Linked DNA regions of Homo sapiens: regions 1, 2, 3, 4, 6 and 7 are each linked to region 5. Evidence: promoter capture Hi-C in 16 types of primary human blood cells and fetal thymus (Javierre and others, 2016). All regions are on one chromosome and are shown on one strand. Each heading gives the region's core, a stretch centred on a gene start or on the middle of the fragment in contact. The rest is flanking DNA. Distances are from core to core; before and after follow the strand shown. Region 1 overlaps TMTC1 (transmembrane O-mannosyltransferase targeting cadherins 1). Region 2 overlaps OVCH1 (ovochymase 1). Region 3 overlaps OVCH1 (ovochymase 1). Region 4 overlaps TMTC1 (transmembrane O-mannosyltransferase targeting cadherins 1). Region 5 holds the start of TSPAN11 (tetraspanin 11). Region 6 overlaps TMTC1 (transmembrane O-mannosyltransferase targeting cadherins 1). Region 7 overlaps TMTC1 (transmembrane O-mannosyltransferase targeting cadherins 1).

Region 1 (3,040 bases), core at 530-3,029, 1.4 Mb before region 5:
ACCCTACAACCAAATCTCTGTAATAGTCAATGCATTTATTTACATGTAACAAATAGAGTCAGTAATGGTACAGATTTTTTTCTGTTTATCCAGTAGACAATCTAGAGTAATTTTATTATCCAGCACAACCTTAGCAAGAGAATTTAAAGATGACTTTTGTGTAATCAGTCTTTGTAGTACAATCTGTTATGGAGCCTATTATGAGGGATGAATTGTAATCATTATCTCCTTTAAATTATGGGAAAAGGGGCCTAAGAATTATGTCTAGAAGAGTGTAAAGAAACTCCATGTTTAAACTTCACTAGAAGAGTGAAGGCCCCTGGCAGTGTTGTTTTAAACCTATGATGTAGGTTAAAAGGAATGAACCAATGTTCTGGTTCTGACTGATTATGGAAGAATAAAGATGCCATTAAATGTTTTTGCTCACATTGGTCCTGAATCTTTTCTACCCAGGCATAAGACTGTCAATGTATAATGCTGGCTGCAAAGTCCTCTACAAATAAAGTTATACCTCATGATGTACACAAATCTCCCTTTTTAGTTTTATTGTTTATAGAGGCATAAGCAAGGAAAAAATTAAGAGAGGTAAGAGTCTGATGATAGCAGAAAAGTCTTGATCTGTGATCTTGGGAAAGCTGTCCATGTCTAGGATGCCATTTGTTTTGGGGAGAAACTTTCCTGATTAGCTTTATCTTAAGGTTTCAAATGGGTGTATAGGTCAAAGAGTCTGGAGGGCCCTTTTCAGTTGTGAGATTATGAACCTAAGCTTTGAGGTCCCAAAGTTTTGCTGTAGTGTGGGTGGCAAGGGCAGTCTTTTTTTTTTTTTTTTTTTTTTTTTTTTTTTTTTTTTTTTTTGAGATGGAGTTTTGCTCTGTCACCCAGGCTGGAGTGCAATGGCAGGATCTCAGCTCACCGCAACCTCCGTCTCCTGGGTTCAGGCGATTCTCCTGCCTCAGCCTCCCAATTAGCTGGGATTACAGGCACCCATCACCACACCCAGTGGCTAATTTTTGTATTTTTAGTAGAGACAGGGTTTCACCATGTTGGCCAGGCTGGTCTCGAACTCCTGACCTCAGGTGATCCACCCGCCTTGGCTTCCCAAAATACTGGGATTGCAGGTGTGAGCCACTGTGCTCAGCAAAGGGCAGTCTTTTTCTGATATCATTTTCAGAATATCCAGTCTCTGGGTTTTAGACCATGAAGGGTTTGATTGTCCACAGTCACTGATCATGAAAAGCCTTTTTTTTTTTTTAAATCTAGCGAAAGTATACTTTGGCATGATGTATTAAAGCCTTGTAGCATTTAGTCATATCAGAGTTTCAGACCAGAAAGTAAATGAGGTTTTGTTATTAGGGATATGGGCCCTCTACCGACTATTTTAGAAAGGCCAACTTACGTTTTCCCCTGGAAGTGGATCTGATTATCCACTGTATCCACTGTAATACTTTTGAATAAGACAATCTAGTTGAATCAGTTACCTTTGCCTAATGCTATTGTATCTGAAATACCTTATTTGTTTTACAACTTGTCCAGTGAATCAAGTGCCTTTTATTGCTAGAGATTTTTCTAGGAATGTCCCATGAGGGAAACACACTTTCTAATAATGTTTTAGCTACTATTACAGCCATCAGATTTTTGTATGAGAAAGCTTTCATATAACCAGAAAATACGCATTAAAAATGACAGTTGAATGAAATTTCTCTATAAATGTTTAAATGGCCCATCAGGTAGCAGAAATGTACCTGAAGTTTTGATTGTCTTCCCAGGATTATGAGTTTGACCACCCAAATATTAGTCAACCATTTTAGCAATTTAGAATAGTCACCATACCAATAAATACTTTAAAAATGTAACCTGGATCAGTTTATCCCTCCTATGATGAGTGATGGCATACAGAACTTTTAACAATGAAAGCTTGAAGGACTTTGGAAGGACCAGGTGGCCATTTAGGCTCTCCATGAGTATATGCTTAATACTGAATTTAGATCCTCTCAAAAACCAATTTTGTTTTTCAATTCAGATGTATAGCACTGTTTATTAGGTGGGCCATCATAGGTAATTTGAATTGGACCATAGAAGTTTATTTAAATTGTATACTTAAAACATTTTAGTGAGAGCTGATTTAGCATGAAAATCTGGCAAAGTGTTTTCTTGGTATTCAATTAATTCTTGTCTTGCTTGGGTTAGAAGTTTTATAACCCAGTCAGTCTCTTCATTAGAGTTTTGGGAATTCTTAATCCAAATAATGTGATCTTTAAGTTATCAGAAACCTGTTTTCAAGAGTGCTTGTCAGGGTTCTTTTCATCCTTTCTGTGAACCTCCTTGAAGATACGCCATTCTAGGATTTTACTTCTTTATCAAGAGCTTTTAGAAAATGTATCATAATTAAGCAATTAACTATGGAAAAGTTAACTATGGTCATGGTTAAAGATGTAATTGACAAAAAAGTTGTTTTTTTTCTCCTGTGGCCTATAATAATTTAATATAATAACCATAATTATGATGGATAACATACCAAGACATATCAGAATTTTAGGAATCTCATAATTTTGGAACATATATTAATAATGTATTCATAAAAACATAACTCAAGGCTAAACATTACTTATTTGACAATGCTTCTCATAGTTTAACATGTCAAATAAGTCTATAAACTCTCTTTTGGATGCTGCAGAAGGCCTCTGCAGAGTGTCTCAAGTTAGTTGAGGTCAAAAAGACTTCATTTCCAACTTGAAATTTGATTTAAGGAAAGAAGCCTGTCAAATATGTCAAAGGTTTAAAACATTTAATTAAAATATGATCACAGGTCACTGTAGAATAATAGTAATTCATTTAGCCAAAATGGTAATTAAAAGGTTTTAAAAAGCATTTATTCCTTGAGGGAGAAGAGGCTCTGTTTTTCAATCAAAAGATCTGAGAAAGACAACATGAGACAGAAGCTGTGTCAAGTTAAACTTAACACCATGCATGTGCCATGCATGTATACAGTGAAACAGAACAGTGAGTGAGAGACACAATCCCTACCTTCACCACTGAGTGG
Region 2 (3,382 bases), core at 754-3,253, 1.4 Mb before region 5:
CTTTGATTTATTATTAGTGATTGCTGTTTTAAGAGGATTTTGAAGTCTGGTCAAGCTAAGTGAGAGAGGGGTCCCCAAACTAACCATTGATCTATTAATTCAAATAATCTATGGAGCATTTATTATGTGCCAGGCACTGATCTAGGCTCTGAGAAATGCAATGTCTCTCATGGATATGAAAGGAAGGAGGGCAACCTGGGTGGTATCTGTCATTTCTGAGAATCCAGCTACCACCTACCAGAATACAGAGAGGCTTGGAGGGACTGTGTAACTCTCTCCTCCTTCTTTATATTATCTCTGTCTCCCTTATGATTTCCTAGTTAGCTCCAGTTGGAATTCACAAAACCCTTTCACTATCTAAGGCTACTCAGCATGCTGAAGAAGTCACTGACTGTGCAAATTGGCCCTATACTCGTTTCTAAAGCACAATTTTTTCACATTTGCACATTCTAAAATTAGAATGCATCTTACAAAGGAATCTTACGATTTCTGTAGACCTGAATTGAAAGAGTTCTTCCTGGCAGAATCTGTATACACTTCTGTCAGTCATGTTGCTCACTGTCAACTTCACAGTGCCGAATTTTCTGCTTGACATGTTTTGGCCTATACTTGAGGTGTGAATTTAGATGGTAGATCTGCACGAGTATTAACCTGTAGTTCAAATTCTCAAATAATTTTTTACCTCTCCCTACATCTACTGCCAAGGTTGAGGCATGTAACTTTCCATGTGGGTGGGTTTACACTTTGTTTAGCCTTACGCTAAAGACAGTGTTTGGTGACTCAGCCTTATATGAACCTATCTTAGGAATTTTGTTTTCTCCTATTGAAGCAGTATTTTACAATGAATTTTTTTGTCTTGATTTATTGAAATATAGTACAAATAGATGCTAATACTCATTGGGTTTTACTGCTACTGAAAGTCTTATTAATCTCTGGTTGACTCCTTACTTTAGTCCCTATAAACTATTTATATCTTAACTATTTTATCTCTACTTCATCTACTAAAGTTGAAGCAATTAAAATCTCATGTGATAACTAAGACATCCAGTGTAAATTCCTTCAACTTTCCTACAGATTACCTTCTTTGTTGCTTTCCCAGAAAAGGAATTATTCTGCCCTCTTTTCAATGCCAAACCTTCTTTATTTGTTGTGTTCTCAGAAAGCTTACTTCACATTTCTATGTGTTTCCTATGACTGTTGACTCTCACTCTCTCTCTGTCCATAAGCACAGTTGAGTCTACTTTATCAAAACAAAGTGCCTCTCTTGACCCTACTGTCTAAAAGCCACCACCCCAATGTTTCCATCTCAGACAACAGTTCTATTCTTCCAATAGCTCAGGTTAAAAACTGTTAGGTTACTCATATGGGGATCTCATTCTCCCTCAAAACCCAAACTGTCAACTCATCAGCAAATCCTACGGCCCTACCACTCTTCACCACCTCTACAAATGTGGTCAAAGCTAGACTTTTACCTGGATGACTGCATCATCTTTTACCTGGACTATTGCAGTAGTTGGTCTCCCAGCTTGTGGTCTTGCCTGCCTACAGTCTATCTGCAACCCAGTAATAAAAGTGATCTTTTAAAAATGTGTCAGATCATGATCTTCCTCATTCAAAATCCTCCAATGGCTCTCTAGCTCCTTTACGGTAAAATCCAAAGTTCTTTTCATGCCCCGCAAGTCCTAAAGAATTTGGCCACATTGCCCCTCTCCAGCCACTCAACTCTGGCTCTCTGGTCAATTTGCTATTCCCCAAATATACCAAGTGTATTCTTGTCTCACACATACCATTCCTTCTGCCTTAATGTTCCTTTCCAAAATGATCATATAATTCCCTCCCTTGCTTTATCCAAGTCCTTTTTTTCAAGTATCATCTTTATAACGTGGTCTTCCCTAACCACCCTCTCTGATATTGTATACTTTCATTCTCCACCCCCCTTTCTTGCCTTATTTTTTGATATAGCATTTACTACCTTCTACTATTATATGTAATCTTTAAAAATTATCCCATTTCCACCTTCTAACTTGCCCCACAAAGGCAAACATTTTTGTGTGTTTCATTCACTGCTGTATCTCTAGCACCTAAGACAGTGTCTTACACATCCTGAGGGTTCAATAGAAATTTGTTGATTATTTGGGATACTAAATTTTCAACAGTCACTTAACCCACTATGAATGTGGCTTCTGATCCTACAGTTCTGCTCAGTTCAAGAAGTTTGAGTTTCTATATGCGATGGCATTTGATCTGATTTTTACTTCTAAAATAACCCTTCTTCTCTTGAAACTTTTTCTTGCAGAGATCTCTGAAATGCTTAACTGTCTAAGTTGGGTCACTGTGTTTGAGGGTAAGTAGGCTGCCATCTGCATGTCTCTTACCCAATATACAAATACTTTGCTCAAATATCCACTTATCAAGAGCATTGATTACTTCCTGAAGCAGGCTAGTTAATTTCAGAAATCATTCAAACAAGAAATGACTTAATATTGAATTGAACTCTGCCTTCTAACTTCTACCCAGTGGTCTTAGTTTTCAGCTCTGCAATTATTCAGAACAAGTCTAACTCTGTTTCTTTAGTAGCCTCTAAGATAAATCAAGACACTTCCCTCCTCCTCTTCAGTCTTCTTTGGATCAAAAAATATTATGGTTCCTATAACCATACCTCTCAAAACATTGTTCTGAATTTTTCCCATCTTGGTCATTTTCCTTCAGACAAATTCTGGCTTATCAATCTCCCTGTCTAAACATTGTACCCTAGAGGTCCTAGAGGTCCCTGAGACTCTAATAAAGGAGTTTCTTAAACTCTTGTTCTAAATATCCTTCTAACAGCTTAAGCAAAGGTGGCAAAAGCTTTATTGGCATTCTATCATCACAAGTTTGCCTGAGACAAAGTCAGTTTAGACCATTAAGCGTTTTAAATTATGAGCTGAAATTAAGCCACATCTTTTCTATCTGTACTTGAAATAAATATTTATATTCATTTTACATTAGTTTTGAAAGTTATAATCTTTCCATCATTTTAGTTTTAGCATACCCATTGGTTGTAGCATAAGGTCTAATCTCTCTGCATGGAACTCAAGGTCCTCTGCAATTAAGTCCCGATCATCCTTTCTATTCTCATCATCCACTGCTACCCCAGTTCCCATTCACATTGTTGTCCAGTCACAGTGGGATACTCAAAACCCAAAAAACCCCAATCTTCCCCACCTCCTTGACATTGCTTATATCTAATTCCCTTGGCATAGAATGACCTCTTCCTGCCTCTCCATCTGTTGAAATCTTCAGTATTAGAGCTACCAAAGACCTCATGAGCTATAAAATCATAACTATCCTTCAACGCCTCATTTCAATGCCATCTTTTCCACTATAACATTTATATCTCTCC
Region 3 (2,966 bases), core at 205-2,704, 1.5 Mb before region 5:
AAGCACAAAACAAATATCAACCCATTCAGATCTTTCACTGTTTTACTAAGCCTTTAAGAGTTCTATACCATAGCCAGGGGTGAGCACATGACAGCCAGTGGATAAATTCTGTGCCACCCCCAAACACGGGCACAAGCCATTAAATAAGAATGGTTTGTACATTTTTAGGTGGTTGAAGAAAATCCAAAGAATGATATTTCATGACACGTGCACATTAAATGAAATTTAAATTTTATAAATTAAGTTCTGTTGGAACCCATTCTGTTACATAATGCCAATGGCTGCTTTATGCTATAACAGTAGACTTAAATAGTTGTGATAGAGACCAGATGACCTGCAAAGCCTAAAAGGATTATTATCTGGCCCATTACAGTAAAGGTTTGTTGACTGCTCATCTAGCCTACTTATAATCTAAGTTACCCTGAAGGAAAAGTTTTAAATAGCTCATTCTCTATTTACTTGCTGATCTGTTACAGCTAAATAAAACATGGTTTCTATCTTTTAGAAAGAAGAGGGGCTGAAGCGGATGCTGCTTGATATCATTTACATGACCTATTTTCAAAAATAACAACTGGCATTAATGTTTATGCAACAAAAATATGCTTACCTGCACTGATGCTTCCCCATCCGGTCACAGCACAGATCTCCGAGGAAAATAGAGGCTCTGCGCTGTGTGGGAGACATACTGGCCTCACCACCGAGTTGTACTCCAGAGGAGAGCTTAGTTGTATTAGGGCAATGTCAGAGTCATAACTTAGTGTGTTAAAGTCTTCATGCACTATTATGTGTTTGGCCCTTCTCACCTGTATCGGTGGCAAGTAAGCAAATTACAACGTAAGAAAGTCAAAGAATCCAGCAACTTCCTTGTTGATGGTCCAAAATAATCCTAAATTTCTGCACTTACATACATAAACAATGCAGAAGACTTTCTATTAAATTTAAAAGAGCAATATTGGTTTACAATTTGCAGGGGGCTATGAACCACCTTCTGGATAAAGGTGGTGCTGGAGAAATAAAGCTTTGAAAACCTGTGTCCATGGGCCTAAATTTGCAATTCTGACCTACTTCCTGCAATTCTCAAGTGAAAATGTAATCTCAAATTGCATTTTTAAATGTGGGTATAAATAATAAGTGTGAAAGGGCCCTAGGAGATTAATAACTAATTACATATTTTAGCTAAAGGTATTCCTTGGCATGTGACAACATTTAGATTACAGGCAGAATGACCTGTAAAAACATTTTTTCACCTGCTCTGTTGATTCCTTCAGGTTTCTGTCATGGTCCCCAGCAATAATAGTCCAGGAGAGTGGATTATTCTTCCTGGAGACAGAAGAACAGTGAAAGTTTGACATGAAAACACATTTGTATTAGTTTGTTCTCACACTGCTATAAAGGACTCTGAGACTATAAAGTCTTTCTGAAGACGTTCTGAGGAAAAGAGGTTTATGAAGAAGAGGTTTAATTGACTTACAATTCTGCATGGCTGGGGAGGCCTCAGGAAACTTACAATCATGGCTGAAGGCAAAGGGGAAGCAAGCACATCTTATCACAGCAAAGCAGAAGAGAGAGAGCAAAGGAAGCCACACACTTTTGAACCATCAGATCTTGCAAGAACTCACTATCAGGTGAACAGGTAGGGAGGGAAACCACCCTACCATCATCTGGCTCTACTAACATGCACTGCTCAGTTCAGCGAGGCAACAGTCCCCTGTCCCATTGCCTCTGCGATCTCCCTCCCAGGGAAGCCACATCATGCCTTCTGATCTATGTGAAAAGGAGCTCTTGATCATGTATCCTGCCCCTTTCTTTTGACCATAAAGTATCATTGGAAACCTTGCCAAATATCACCAAAGGCTTTTTTTAGGTCGAGGAGGAAAAATGAAAATAATTAAAGCTTAATTTCACAGTGATGTTAAGAATATGTTTAAAAAAGACTTGGAACCAACCCAAACATCCATCAATGATAGACTGGATTAAGAAAATGTGGCACACATACACCATGGAATACTACACAGCCATAAAAAAGGATGAGTTCATGTCCTTTGTAGGGACACGGATGAAGCTGGAAACCAACATTCTCAGCAAACTATCGCAAGGGCAAAAAACCAGACACCGCATGTTCTCACTCGTAGGTGGGAATTGAATAATGAGAACACCTAGACACAGGAAGGGGAAGATCACACACCGGGGACTGTTGTGGGGTGGGGGGAGGGGGGAGGGATAGCATTAGGAGATATACCTAATGTAAATGATAAGTTAATGGGTGCAGCACACCAACATGGCACATGTATGCATATGTAACAAACCTGCACGTTGTGCACATGTACCCTAGAACTTAAAGTATAATAAAAAATATATACAAAAAAATCATAAGGAAGAGAAAATACGTTTCTCTTAATACTGTATTTATCTCAGTACTGTATTTATCAATATCTTAAATTTGTTTAATAAATAATAAAAATCTTTGCAAGAAAAAAAGAATATGTTTAAAAAATTATATCTGTGACAAGGTAGCTTCTGGTCTATATTTTACTGTTCAACATTGCCGAATTATGATCTCACTGGGTCATATCTCAGATCGTCATCTTTTGTTAAATCAGAGTTATGAAACTAAAGTTCAAAGGAATTTATCAGTTTAAAAATTGGCAAAACTCAACTATTGCGTTAGAAATCAGAATGCTGATTACTTTTAGGGGAGTGATGACTGGAAGAGGCACAAGGGCGGCTGCTGGGTACTAGTAATGCAGTATTTTGTTTCTTGATCTGGGTGTTGGTTACATGGGTGTTCATTTTGTGAAAAGTTCTGCCTACTTCTGATACACCTCAAAATGATGTTAAGAAGTTTGAATCAATATCCATTAATTTCTCGTATCAAGATCTCCAGCTGAAAAAGTGTCTGAGGAAAGAGTCCCTCTACTGGAACCAATACACTGTCACTTCTACTTGGAGACTAATTCTTCCATTTA
Region 4 (2,953 bases), core at 27-2,526, 1.4 Mb before region 5:
AAGGCGGAGGTTGCAGTGAGCCAATATCGTACCACTGCACTCCAGCCTGGGTGACAGAGTGAGACTCCATCTCAAAAACAAACAAACAAACAAAAAAAGCCAGGCCATTAGTTTTAGTTTTAGACTCAAATTTTCTAAAAAAGTAATGGTTTCAATATAAATTGAGTTTGTAGTTATATTAAAACATCCAAATGGAAGAATCCTCTTTTTATGTTTAAAATAACTTCAGAAAAGGAAAGGATACCAAGGAGAGGAGTGGACTGGACTACCCCCAGACAGTGGTGACTTGTGATGTACAGCAAATCTGTCTTTAATTTGGACATCTTCACTAGTATAGGACAACTGTGATCTGCTATTCGAAAAGCTTGGCTGTGAAGGGCAGACGGAGATGTGATAGCAGCTACAGATAAAATGAAACAGAGGATTTTTTTTTTCAAATTGTTTCGGTGTTGATTGCCTGTGTATGTGCTTTAAGAAGAGTAGAACTGACAAATTGACAAGAGCCAGCAAAAGGAAGAAGTAAAAAGATGAAGGAGAAGTTAAGGCATGGAATGAAGTTCCATAAGAGGCAAAATGCAGAACCTAGGGTCCTCTTCTTCCATTACGATAACAGGAGAAAAGAAAGGATAGAATTAGGTGCAGGTAAATGTATAGATGAAGTGCAGGGCATTGGGGGACAGCTGCTTTCTACCTTTTATTTACTCTGTGAAGAGAGAGGTGACAGCATCTAAGCATGATAGGGGAGCGGATCTGGAGTGGGTGAGTACTGAATTGGCACTGTGCGGAGGAAGGGAAAGAGAGCAGACAGGAAGCACACAGAATAATGCAATGAAATGAGTAAATGAAAGAATGAAGGAAGGAAGATGGTCCTTTTTAAAACATTGTTAAAACAGACACTCCTGGTGACATGGACATCAGTAGGTACTAACCATGAAGTACTTGAGAGATTGAAACCAGACATACTTATTTTAATCATATTTTATATAAAATAGACATTTACATAAATTTAATTTTGGAAAGACCTAGGCAAAGTATACATCATTAGACTCAATGGGAGAAATACTTTATGGAAGATAAATTCTAACGGGCACAGCCAAAGTAACAAAAATGTACATTTACATACAACTGATCCAAACAGGAAGTAAAAGCATTATGAAAAAAGAACATGATGCAAATCATTTCCCCCTGACAAAAGGAGGGATCTGCGTGAATTACAGCAAATCAAATGATTTCCACATTATAAAAGCAAGCCATGGCTTCTACAGATATTTTAATTCCTTGGGAGGAAGTTTCACCTCATCTTTTTTCCCCAGTAAAGTAACAATCACTGTAGGAATTTTTAAGTGCACAAACTGCAAAATAGGAGTAACTACCTCTGCCATGTTCAAGCACTTGGGCAATTCAGTCACTTTTAGGGTTGTATCATTTAAAAAAGGGGCAACATTTATGAATTATCTCATCAGATGCATGGTGTTTTTCAATCCAGATTCAAGAGTAACTATTAGAGTTACTCATTGAGCTTAATGGAAACATCAAACCGACGAGTCCTTTCATGGGTGGTAAACATGACTGGGAGACAATGGCTAACTTGCCCCAGGTAAGGTGGCTCTTCAGTGGCAGAGCTAGAACTAGAACTAGAACTCAGATGTCTTGATTCTTGGGGTAGTGTACCCCTCCTATGGACCAGCAAGATAAATAACCCCCAAAGGACATCACACATACTGAAAACTACCAAATTTGTTACATATATATATATACAACGTGTACTACTGAGAATGCAAAGAAACTACTGGATTTTTAGAAATAGACATGTCTCTCCAGGTAGGAGTCAATGGTGATCTATGCTTACAAACCAATAATGACCATATATTGTGGTGGATGCTGATTTTATGAGTTACAGGCCCTAAAGATTTTAATTGAAAAGATCAATTAAAATCAATATTTTAATATCAGCCAATTGATTGTTATAAAGATCTTATCAATTCTGTTGTGCCACTTTGATTGATATTAAACCATACTTTTGATTGCAGTTATTTTCTGTTCTCTTTAAATTACATGGCTACAAATAAAATATTGAGGGAAATAATATTTTTTGGAAGAACTATTCAGCATATTTTCCTTTTGCATCAAAAACGTCAAGAATAATCATAAAATCTTATAATATTTCTCTATATTATTTTTTGACATCCTAAGCTTTTATCTTATTCAACTGCAACCTCAATGCTAGATTTGACAGGTACTTAATTCTTTTTAAATGTCAAAAGATACCATTTAAATAGCTAAGTTAACCTATATTTGGGAGATACCAACATATAATCAAATCAAAGTAAACATAATTTGGAAACCAGGAACAAAAATTTTTAAAAAATCACCTCTCACTATATTTGTTTTGAATGTCATTCCTAATATCCTCTAAATTTATTATTTTAAGAAGGTGAATCCACCACAAATCAAAGCAAAAGTTTTTTTTTTTTTCAAAAACAGATTCTAACAAGTACAAAGAAATAATTAACAAAAGCTCATGTGTGCCCAAAATAAAGATAGAGATGTAGGCATAAACTCTATACCATGGACACCTTCTATGAGTCACGAAAATATCAGTCATATATATACTGGCACTTAGTCTGGTACATGCAAATTTCAAGGCAATTCCTCTCCATCTGAGAACGAGGAATTGTGTCATTTTAAGGCCAAATTGCAGTCCAATTGCCACAAGTGCAAAACCACCCCACATAACCACCTATTTGTAATCATGGAATGATAGCCTCAACCAACCAATTGTGCCATACATCATTGTTAAGACTTCTTTGGCTCATTTTAGTATAGACTTAAAAGTAAAAATTGCAAAAGATGATAAACATCTATTATTTTGTAAAAGTTACAAGCTCCCATTCCAGGTGTCAGCCCTGTAGTGGTTCTCCAGCCTAGCTGCACATAAGAAGCATCACCAGGA
Region 5 (2,941 bases), core at 262-2,761:
TCCTTCTTTCTAAATCTAAACCTATTTTCTTGGGCGCCCTCCTCCGTGGTGTCCCTGCAGCCCGGGCCCCGGCCCCCATTGAACCTCCCTCTTCTCCTGAGTCCTGACACCCCGCACAGTCCTGACCTTCCCTTATGGTTTCTCCTGATAGTTTCCGTTCCTTTCATGGGCTCCTTCTCGGTAGACCTAGATTCTGTCTTCAGCCCTGTTCTCTGTACCTTTTCTACCCTCTCCCTCCACCTCTTGTGTCGGCCCAACTTCTTTCCAGATGATTCCAAAATTGACATCCCTTGCCTCAGTCTCTCCTATGAACTCCAGAATCACCCTTCCAATTGCATTTGCTGGATATCTGCCCCTGGAAGAAGGTGGCCTGCTTCTCCAATCCAACTTGCTCCACACTAAACTCAGTCACATCACTCCAGGTTCTCCTCCAGACTTCCACAATGTTACAGCCCCAGTGTGCTCCTCCTACACCACACAGTCTGTAGACTCTCCTTTGCTGCAGCTTCCGCATTCATCCCCCAGTTAAGGTCCTCATCTCACGGGACTATTGGAATCATCTCCTTCCTGTGTGGCCCCCCGCGAAGCCCTTCTCAGCAGCCAGCTGGGGTATTTAGAACGTTGGTGCTCCCGGTACAGTGGCTTTGTCAGCGTCCCCTGCCTCCAGTGGCTTCCCTGATCTAGCAACCTGGTAAATGGGTAATCTTCCTCACTGCAGCTAAGTTTCAAAAGAACACGGTTGGATAAGCACAAGGCCCTTGTTACTTTGGGAAATAGATAATCCATGCCCCACTGTTAGGGCCAGTCCCGTTAGGGCCAGCTTTGCACCTTCACAGGGACTCAGCAGGAACAGATGGGCTCTACTCTCTGTTATTCCTTTTTGCTTCAGATTAGAGAGACCTTGATTCTCCCCGGGGCCCAGGAAATGTAAAGCTGATGCTCCACAGGACTCTAAGAGGGACACGGCAGTGATGGGGGCTGGTGAGGAAGGGGGATGGAGAACCTCTCTCTTATCAGACAGGCTTGTCCCTAGGGTCCCTGGAAACCCCCAAAGGCCAACCTCTCCCAGGGGCCGACAAACGTAAAGGGCAGGGAGACCTAAGCGGGGAGCTGCGGAGCGCGGGGAGTTTGAAAGCCGCTCCACCGCCCTACTAGTCCGTCCTTTTGCCCCGCCCCCCTTAGGGATCCCCCCGGCAACCGCACAGCTGCCTCGGACTCTGACTTAATTCCCTCCGCGTGCTCTGAATCGCAGAGAGGCAAACCCCCAAACAAAGAGCCGGCAGCTCGCGTGCGGGGCTCCCGGGCGCGTCCTGCCGGCTGGGCTGGGAGAGCCGGCGCCGGGGCGTCGCGGCCGAGCGCTGGGCAGGCGGGGACTAGAGGGCCGGCAGGAAGCCTCAGTGGGCGCAGGGGCGCGGGCCGGGCTGCCCACACGCTGACCTTCCCGGGCTGGGAGGGAGGAGCGCTGGCTGCGGGCGGTGGGCGGCTGGGCGGCCCCGGGAGCCGCCGCTCTCAGTCTCTCTAGGCGCAGCTCCCTTCGCCGCTTCCGGAGCCCCTGGCAGGGTAAGTGCAGAAGCGCGCCCGAGGAGTGGGGGCGCCGCGGGAGGGGGCTGGGGGTCCAGGAGAGGCGCCTCCACCTCCGCTGCCCGCCCCGCCGGCAGTCCCGAGCTAGACTGTCCCGAGCTTCCCCCGGGCGGGCAGAGGGAAGCCGGCTGGGGATGAGGAGTGGAGGAGGCAGGAATGCCTGGGACACTCGCGGGGCATGTGAGCAGGTATTGGTGTCTGCATGGGACACGCAACACGGTGTCCATAACTATGCGCATGAGTCTGCCTTTCTGCACTTGTGCCTTGGGAGAGAGCTCTGGGCCTCTGAGGGCCTCGTGCCGTCCAGCGTGCCCGGGGCATGTCTGTTCCTCTTGAAAATGTCATTCTTTGTCCACCCTGAATTCGAGTAGCTGCCTCTCATGGCTACACCAAAATGCTGTATCTGGTGCACATTGCTTTCAGAGGGCCTGTCTGCCTGTGCAGGGATGTCCTCATGTTCTGGGCACGTCTGTGTATTTGTGACAACATGGCTGTGTAGGCCCTGTCACCTGTGTTTTCGTGCCCATCCCTGCATGTGCAGTTGGCCGGCTCCGTGTGGAAAGAAGGCATGGAAGGTTCTGGGGTGTATCCTTTTCACCAGCCATATGTGCAGTGTGCACATGTGTGAATTGGTGGAAAGTATGAAAGGGAGGCAGCCCAGTTGGGCTTGGCGGGACAGCATCTTAACTTGAGTCTAAGCTGCTGTGTGCAGGAGGAATAAGTGTTCCAGAGGTCTCCAGTTCGTGGCAAGTATTGTGAGGTGAGCGTGGGGGTGGGGGGTGAGGAGAAGAGGCAGCTTCTGGAAAAACTCATAAGTGCACTCTGGGGCATAGGGTGTGTGTGGGGGAGCGTGAAGAAGAGAATGAGGGTGGTATTAGGCCAAAGTGGATAGTCTGTGTTCAATTTGTGGGCAGCTGGATTGCAGTGGAAAGCAGCAGTTAGAGGCTGGAGACAGGTTTGAATCAGAACTTAATGGTTGTCACTGTGTCAGTAGCATTGTTCCCTGGACAGATAGGTCATCTGGGGCTCAGTTGCTTTTTGTGCAAAATGGGACTAATAACCACTGGCCCCATCTGTCTCCCAAGGGACTGGAGGCTCCAATTAATGCCTGGAAATGCTTTGATGATAGTTAAGACTCCTAGGGTAAGGGGCACTACTGGCCTACAGGGGCCAAGTTGGTGGTCTGGCGAGGGCTTAGGTGGCCCAGAGCTGTTTGGTTTGTGGGTAGCAGAGGGAGGCATTTGTGTGCTGTTTCCCACTATATTCAGCATAGCAGGAATTTTATACCCACCTTTGGACTCGTGTGTAAAATATGTACAGGCCTGTGTGATTCCCCATAGTTCTTGTGTGAGTGCTGCAG
Region 6 (3,219 bases), core at 245-2,744, 1.4 Mb before region 5:
AAAAGCAAAGATTGAGAAGAGAACAAGATGTAGGGAAGGAGGAGAGGGTCCTGAGAACTCTTCCATTAAGGGTTGGTGGAGGCAGGACAATCTAAAGAAGGAGCAGAAAAAGCAAGAGAGCATGGTGTCACAGATGCTAAAAAAGAATTACTTTAAGGAGGAGGAAGTGGTCAACAAAGTCAAATGCTGCTGAGAGTTAGGTAATTTGATGCCCAAGCATGGTCCATTGGAATTATCTGCATGGAGGTAGCTGGTGACTTGGGGAGAGCAGTTTCACATGTGGGGAGGGAGCTGATGCCAGAATGTAGTTGAGTAATGAGAGAAAATAAGGAAGACATTGCAACTTTCTGGGAAATTTTGACACTTAAAAGGTAGGAAGGAGATAAGGAAGCACACAGATGAATGGCAGGAGGAGGAAAACAAGAGATACAGACAGGCTCGGTTGTTTGTTTGTTTGTTTGATGGTAGGAGCAACTAGAGAATATTTAAATATTAATGGGAAAGTGCCAGGTGAAGGGGAGGAAGCAAAGGATTTAAACAGAGGATTATAAATAAGCTCTGAGAAACTGGAAATTATGGAACCTTGAGCAGAAAAGAAGAGATCAGCCTTAGGCGTGAAAAATGAGCAGGGTAGTAAAAGAGGAAAATCTGAATTAATCAGGGTTCTCCAGAGAAACAGAAGCAACAGGATGTGTATATTTACATTTAGGGAGACATTTATCCTAAGGAACTGGCTCTCATGATTGTGGGGGCTGGCAAGTCCAAAATCTGCAGGGTAGGCGGCAGGCTGGGGACCCAGGGAGGAGCTGCAGTTAGAATCCAGAAGGCAGTCTGTGGGTAGGATTTTCTCTCCTTCCAGGGAAGTCTGTCTTTTTCTGTTAAGTCCTTCAACGGGATGGATGAGGCCTACCCACATTCTGGAGGATAATCTGCTTTACTCAAAGTCTACTGATTTAAATGTTAATCTCATCCAAGAGGCACCTTTGTAGGAACATCTAGAATAATGTTTTACCAAATATCTAGGTATCATGGCCCATCCAAGCTGACATGAAATTATCCATCGCAAGTCTACCCCTTGCCAATCTAGCACTCAGGAAGAGGAAAAGATAGACGTAATTTAGGATCTTCTGCTATTGACGACATTTAGGTTTTACATTATACCTCAGTTACCTTTTAAAACATTCCAGGTAATTCACATACTTTAAAAACACAGTATAAGGCCAGGTGGAGTGGCTCACGCCTGTAACCCCAGCACTTTGGGAGGTCAAGATGGGTGGATCACATGAGGTCAGGAGTTCAAGACCAGCCTGGCCAACATGGTGAAACCCCGCCTCTACTAAAAATTCCAAAATTAGCCAGGTGTGGTGGCAGGTGCCTGTAATCCCAGTTACTTGGGAGGCTGAGGCAAGAGAATCTCTTGTACCCAGAAGGCAGAGGCCACAGTGAGTGGAGATCGCACCACCGCACTCCAGCTTGGGCAACAGGAGTGAGACTCCGTCTCAAAAAACAAACACAAAAAACCACAGTATAAAGAAGTTTACATGTAGCATTGTTCCATTCAACAAATATTTACTCAGTGCCATGTTCCTGGCACTCTCCTTCATGCTGGGGATAAGGACAAAGATTTCTGCTTTCATGCAGTTTACTGGGTAGAGGAGGGACACACAATTAACAAAACGATAGGTGAGTAGAGCGGAGGGTGATAAATGGAGAAAAATGAAGCAAAGAGGGGGAACAGGGGATGCTGGTGGTGCTTGTGGTCTTCAGTGGGGTGGCCCAGGGAGGCCTCATGGAGAAGCCGATGACACATATGAGGAGTGCTGAAGGGTGTGAGGGAGGCAGCCATTGAGGTAAGGGGGGAAGGGTTCTAGGAGGAAAGAACAGAACGCAGAACCCCTGAAACAGGAAGGTGATGTGGCTGGCATGCACGTGCCTGCAGCCCAGTGTGTCTGGAGCCAAGTAAGCAAGAAGAATAGCAGGAGGTGTGTCAGGGGGAGTAAGGGGGCAGGTGGTGCAGGGCGAGCATGGAGGCTGCTGCAGGGCCGCCCACTTTCCCCGTAAGTGAGGTGGGGTGGCTGGAGCCTTCTGAGCTCCAGATTGCTGTGAGTGGGGCTCCAGCGGGGCTGGTCTTGAACTCCTGACCTCATGTAATCCACCCATCTCGACCTCCACAAGTGCTGGGCCACCCCACTGAAGATCCCTGGGGCTGCTGTATTGAGAACAGACTGAAGGAAAGCAGGGCAAAGGTGAAAACCACAACACCAGTTAGGAGCATATTGCTGCGGTCTAGCTGAGAGGTGGAGGGGACAGTGGACGTGGAGGGAGGTGGTCAGATTCTGTGTGTGTTAGTCATATTTACTGAGCGTGTCATTGCCCTCATTGCTTACGGATATTGCTTTAAGTCTTTTATATGAATTATCTTGTAATCCTCCAACCCTATGAGGTAGGCAGCATCCCTATTCTCATTTTTAACAGAAAATCTCAACCCTATTTTGCTAAACCTGCCATATTTACTTATACAAGAAATCACAGCTGGTGTAAAGTTCCCCTTCAAGGCTGAAGTGCATATTCTCCCGGCTGCTAGGAGTGTTGGCTGCTGGCAGCTCAGAGTCCACCTCCTCTCTGGGAATTGCTCTCAGCCTCAGGGAGTTGCCTCCCCAAGGCTAGACTCCCGTCCTGGATGCAGCGATTGGTTGAAAGCGGGGTTTAAAAGTAAATCTCTTGCCTCCATTCATGACACCTCTAAGGGGACATCCCAGTTCCAGAGCTCCCCATGGGATCAGCTGAGGCCTCAGCTGGAACTGCATTCTACTCAACATCTCCTTTCTTCTGCTGCCCTGGTGTTCCCGAGGGTGCTCCTTAATAAACTTCCTGCTTGCAAATCTTTGCCTTGGATTCTGTTTTCTGGGGAACCATGCATAAGAGAGTTTTTAAAATGAAAAAGTGGTCTAAGATAGCCAGAAAAAGTGAAACTTTTCTGAAAATACATTATGGAGATTTCATTTTGAAATTCAGCTCATAAGTATGGCCACAATGTGACTTAAATTCGTTTTTTTTTTCTAAATGAAATAATGTTTAATTTCCTGAGCTCATGAATAAAACTGCCAGATTTAATTAACACAGCATATATATACTGAGAATGTAATTTCATCAACAAGAAGCAACAAAAATAATTTCGTGTCTACTTGTGATATTAGAAAGCATATTTGAGCTTTTATA
Region 7 (3,112 bases), core at 36-2,535, 1.4 Mb before region 5:
TCAGTTAAAAGACCAGAAACCTGTAGTTGTAGTTAAAACCACAGATTCTTGCAGCTGGATAATTCTATGAGATCACTTGTTCTCACCCTTTGTTTTAAAGAGATGGAGGCCGGGCACAATGGCTCACGCCTATAATCCCAGCATTTTGGGAGGCTGAGGAAGACGGATCATTTGAGGTCAGGAGTTCGAGACCAGCCTGGCTAACATGGTGAAACCCTGTCTCTATTAAAAATACAAAAATTAGCCAAGCATAGTGGCTCATGCCTGTAGTCCCAGCTACTCAGGAGGCTGAGGCAGGAGAATCACTAAAACCTGGAGGTTGCAGTGAGCTGAGATCAGCCCACTGCACTCCAGTCTGGGCAACAGAGCAAGACTCTGTCACACACACACACACACACACACACACACACACACACACACACACACGGATAGAAACTAAGCCTCAGCAAAGTTTAAATTTCCCCGAGCTGTTCAACTGCAGGGGTAGAAAATGCATTATCTACTTCTGATTCATTGCATATTTTATACCAAGGACCTGAGTTTCAAATTGAAAGTGAGAAATTATGTCCCTGGGCTGATGATAATTAATAATAGTTAAAGCTTATTTCATCTTCATTGGGTAATAGGGCCTATGTTGAGGACTTACACGCATTATTGTATTTAGTACTCATGAAAGATGTAGTTACTAGTATTATTTGCACTTTATACACGAGCAGTTGGAGGCACTGCAAGGTAAAATCCTTTTCCCAAGGTCACATGTAATTTTGCAGTAGAACTGAGACTCAAACTCACTAAGCTCTCCCAGCTGCTAGTCTTGAGGAGAACACACAGGAGGTGGTAGTGAGGCAGCATGATGTGGCAGAAAGCACTGGCATCAGTTTCCTGGCCCTGGGCTCTCTCCTCACGTGATTCTCAGTCTGTAATGGGAGAGTGATGGGCTTGTCCTAGACAACTGGTGTGGGCAGGCTCATGAGACATGAGAAGTGCTGAGCAGAGTGCCATTTAAGTGCCAGTTACTGTTGTCCCTGTCACTTGCAGGAGGAGGGTGGCCAGAAAGCTGAGGGAAGAGAGCCCTGCTATGCTGGCCGGCAGACAAGAGGCAAGGCATGAAAACACCAAACTAAGGGAACTGGGCCCTATATCAGGAGGGTACAAATGGGAGGGAGGTTGGCAGAATTGCTAAGGAGTCACCAAGAAGGGAAGGGGCCTTATTTCATGCTTCCTGGGACAGACCCTGCAGGCCACAGACAGGGGTGGAACATGCATATTCCTCTTTCTGTCCTTCCTATTTCTCTTCCTGGCCTACACAGAGCATTTTTAGATTTAAAAGCCTTTTGATTATGTCTAACAGCCTATATGCCAAATTTAATTGTCTGGGTAAAGTTGATCTCCTACTGGGCTTTAGAAAAAATGTTCAGGCACTTGGTACCCTAAAGTAAGACAAATGTATGCAGAAAGAAATTTTCAATGATTATCCACATTTCTCTTATTCTTTTAATTGAATCAGACTAGTCCCAGCTACTCGGGAGGCTGAGGCAGGAGGATCGCTTCAGCCCAGGAGTTTGGAAGTTTGAAGCTGTTGTGTGCTATGATCGCACCTGTGAATAGCCACTGAACTCCAGCCTGGGCAACATAGTGAGTCCTTTTCTCTTAAAAAAAAAATTCCTCTTTCACCTTGAGTTATTCCAAAAATTATTCCTTTTTCACCTATATCTTGAGTCATCCCAAGTCTTTCAGGCAGCACAGGAGCTCAAGGGGACAAGATAACAAAGGATTCCGGGAAAGATTGTAAAGGGTGAATGGGGTGGGAAAATGATTTTCAGGACAAGGGAGACTACTGAAACTCTTGCACTTGACAAAGCAGTCTGGCCTGTTTAATTATCCTCTGTTAGAAATATTTATGCAATGAAGGAAAATGATGACATTCCAACTCCTTCAAGAGAATGTAAACAAAAACCAGGGGATTCCTCAAAGCTTGCTCCCACCCAGCACTTCCTGGGCAGCTCTGTCTTCAGGTCTCCGCGGTGTTTACTGCAGTCATTACAAAAGGAAAAGGAAAGATTGAGAGAAGATTCCTTGCAAAGCACATGATGGATTTAAAACAACGCAACCTCAACTCATTAGTAATCACAGTATAAATGAGTGGAGTTGCAGTAGGGGAGAGGGACTCACAAAAATAGTTTAATCATTAGCAATCTGTTTACATACAAACAACTGCCAAATCTTGAGTAAGTACATAGACATTCTCGTTATTTCCCAGTAACTTAATTTTGGACAGCCACTGACCATGAAATGATAAAAATGTAAATGAAACCACATTTTAAATGAACTAGGAAAGTTCTCTATTTAAAACCTCAGTCACAGTCTCTAAAATGTAACCTGGCAGGTTAGTATTTCTCATACATTGACAAATGGCCAATCTGGCTGGGGTCTGGGTTTACACAATATGGGAGAGGAGTGAAGAATAAGGAGGAAAGTGGCAGGATTATGGAAAGCCCTGAATGCTAAGACATTTGGACTCTATGTGTGTACGCAATGGATATGAAGTGAATTTCTTAGCTGTCCCTAAATTTATAGGAAGGGTCGAAGAAGAGCAGATGTTGGATTTGGAAGAGCAAAATAATGCACTGTGATAGAAGCAATGAAATAAAGAGCTTCAAAATCAGAAGGAGATCAACAGTGTCATATTCTTCACTGCAGAGAAACTAAGGGAGTAAAAGCTGGCAGAGCAGTGAATGCACTAGACAGCTGTGTGAACAGGTGCAAAGGAGAAGCACCAGGCGCTAACCATTCTTCTTGCCAATTTGATCAAAAGCAAAGAGTGAAGACAACAACTGGAGGGAGCGCCTCAACTGAGAAAGATTCCCTAGGGGGATCTGGGGCATGCTGAAGTTGTGGACTGGAGAGAATTTGAAGACCTAAGAGAGAGCCTGTGGTAATAGAAGAGGAGAGAAATAGAATCAGGAACACATGTGGATTCTACATTAATGACCACTAATGGCTAAAACACAGCACCAAATGTTCAAAAGGATATGGAGCAAATGAATCTTTCCCCATTGCTGATGGAGTGAAAAATGGCACAATTATTTTGGAGAACTGTTTGTCAATTGAT

What was found. The method cuts DNA at HindIII sites, captures the fragments that hold promoters and counts their contacts. A CHiCAGO score of 5 or more calls a contact.
Region 1: a fragment that was not itself captured here is called in contact with the fragment with the promoter of TSPAN11 in region 5 in 6 of 17 cell types (naive B cells, naive CD8 T cells, non-activated CD4 T cells and 3 more); the score reaches 6.5 in naive B cells.
Region 2: a contact is called between a fragment that was not itself captured here and the fragment with the promoter of TSPAN11 in region 5, in 1 of 17 cell types (total B cells). The highest score is 5.8, in total B cells.
Region 3: a contact is called between a fragment that was not itself captured here and the fragment with the promoter of TSPAN11 in region 5, in 1 of 17 cell types (total B cells). The highest score is 5.8, in total B cells.
Region 4: a contact is called between a fragment that was not itself captured here and the fragment with the promoter of TSPAN11 in region 5, in 5 of 17 cell types (naive B cells, activated CD4 T cells, M1 macrophages and 2 more). The highest score is 7.1, in naive B cells.
Region 6: a contact is called between a fragment that was not itself captured here and the fragment with the promoter of TSPAN11 in region 5, in 3 of 17 cell types (naive CD8 T cells, non-activated CD4 T cells and erythroblasts). The highest score is 6.5, in naive CD8 T cells.
Region 7: a contact is called between a fragment that was not itself captured here and the fragment with the promoter of TSPAN11 in region 5, in 8 of 17 cell types (naive B cells, total B cells, total CD4 T cells and 5 more). The highest score is 11.0, in naive B cells.

Annotation. Positions count from the first base shown.
Region 1 is chr12:29,524,346-29,527,385 of GRCh38, forward strand. The region is part of intron 11 of TMTC1 (transmembrane O-mannosyltransferase targeting cadherins 1); the gene reads right to left. The region is part of intron 2 of LOC105369714 (a long non-coding RNA gene); the gene reads left to right. Among named protein-coding and RNA genes, the nearest start is that of OVCH1, 28 kb to the left of the region's middle. The HindIII fragment of the contact is 266 bases long and covers 1,647-1,912 here.
Region 2 is chr12:29,480,489-29,483,870 of GRCh38, forward strand. All of the region lies in intron 9 of OVCH1 (ovochymase 1), which reads right to left. The region is part of intron 1 of OVCH1-AS1 (OVCH1 antisense RNA 1); the gene reads left to right. Among named protein-coding and RNA genes, the nearest start is that of OVCH1, 16 kb to the right of the region's middle. The HindIII fragment of the contact is 1,684 bases long and covers 1,162-2,845 here.
Region 3 is chr12:29,463,900-29,466,865 of GRCh38, forward strand. It overlaps OVCH1 (ovochymase 1), which reads right to left. Exons shown (of 26, transcript NM_001353179.2): 17 at 1,248-1,320; 18 at 608-803. All of the region lies in intron 1 of OVCH1-AS1 (OVCH1 antisense RNA 1), which reads left to right. Among named protein-coding and RNA genes, the nearest start is that of OVCH1, 32 kb to the right of the region's middle. The HindIII fragment of the contact is 876 bases long and covers 1,017-1,892 here.
Region 4 is chr12:29,499,877-29,502,829 of GRCh38, forward strand. TMTC1 (transmembrane O-mannosyltransferase targeting cadherins 1) reads right to left here. Exons shown (of 18, transcript NM_001193451.2): 18 at 964-2,953. Among named protein-coding and RNA genes, the nearest start is that of OVCH1, 3.7 kb to the left of the region's middle. The HindIII fragment of the contact is 1,829 bases long and covers 363-2,191 here.
Region 5 is chr12:30,925,237-30,928,177 of GRCh38, forward strand. TSPAN11 (tetraspanin 11) reads left to right here and starts at 1,512. Exons shown (of 8, transcript NM_001370302.1): 1 at 1,512-1,560. It overlaps LOC124902911 (a long non-coding RNA gene), which reads right to left and starts at 1,453. Exons shown (of 2, transcript XR_007063264.1): 1 at 1-1,453. The HindIII fragment of the contact is 3,619 bases long and covers 1-2,941 here.
Region 6 is chr12:29,564,347-29,567,565 of GRCh38, forward strand. All of the region lies in intron 9 of TMTC1 (transmembrane O-mannosyltransferase targeting cadherins 1), which reads right to left. Among named protein-coding and RNA genes, the nearest start is that of OVCH1, 68 kb to the left of the region's middle. The HindIII fragment of the contact is 6,262 bases long and covers 1-3,219 here.
Region 7 is chr12:29,545,251-29,548,362 of GRCh38, forward strand. The region is part of intron 10 of TMTC1 (transmembrane O-mannosyltransferase targeting cadherins 1); the gene reads right to left. The region is part of intron 5 of LOC105369714 (a long non-coding RNA gene); the gene reads left to right. Among named protein-coding and RNA genes, the nearest start is that of OVCH1, 49 kb to the left of the region's middle. The HindIII fragment of the contact is 1,374 bases long and covers 599-1,972 here.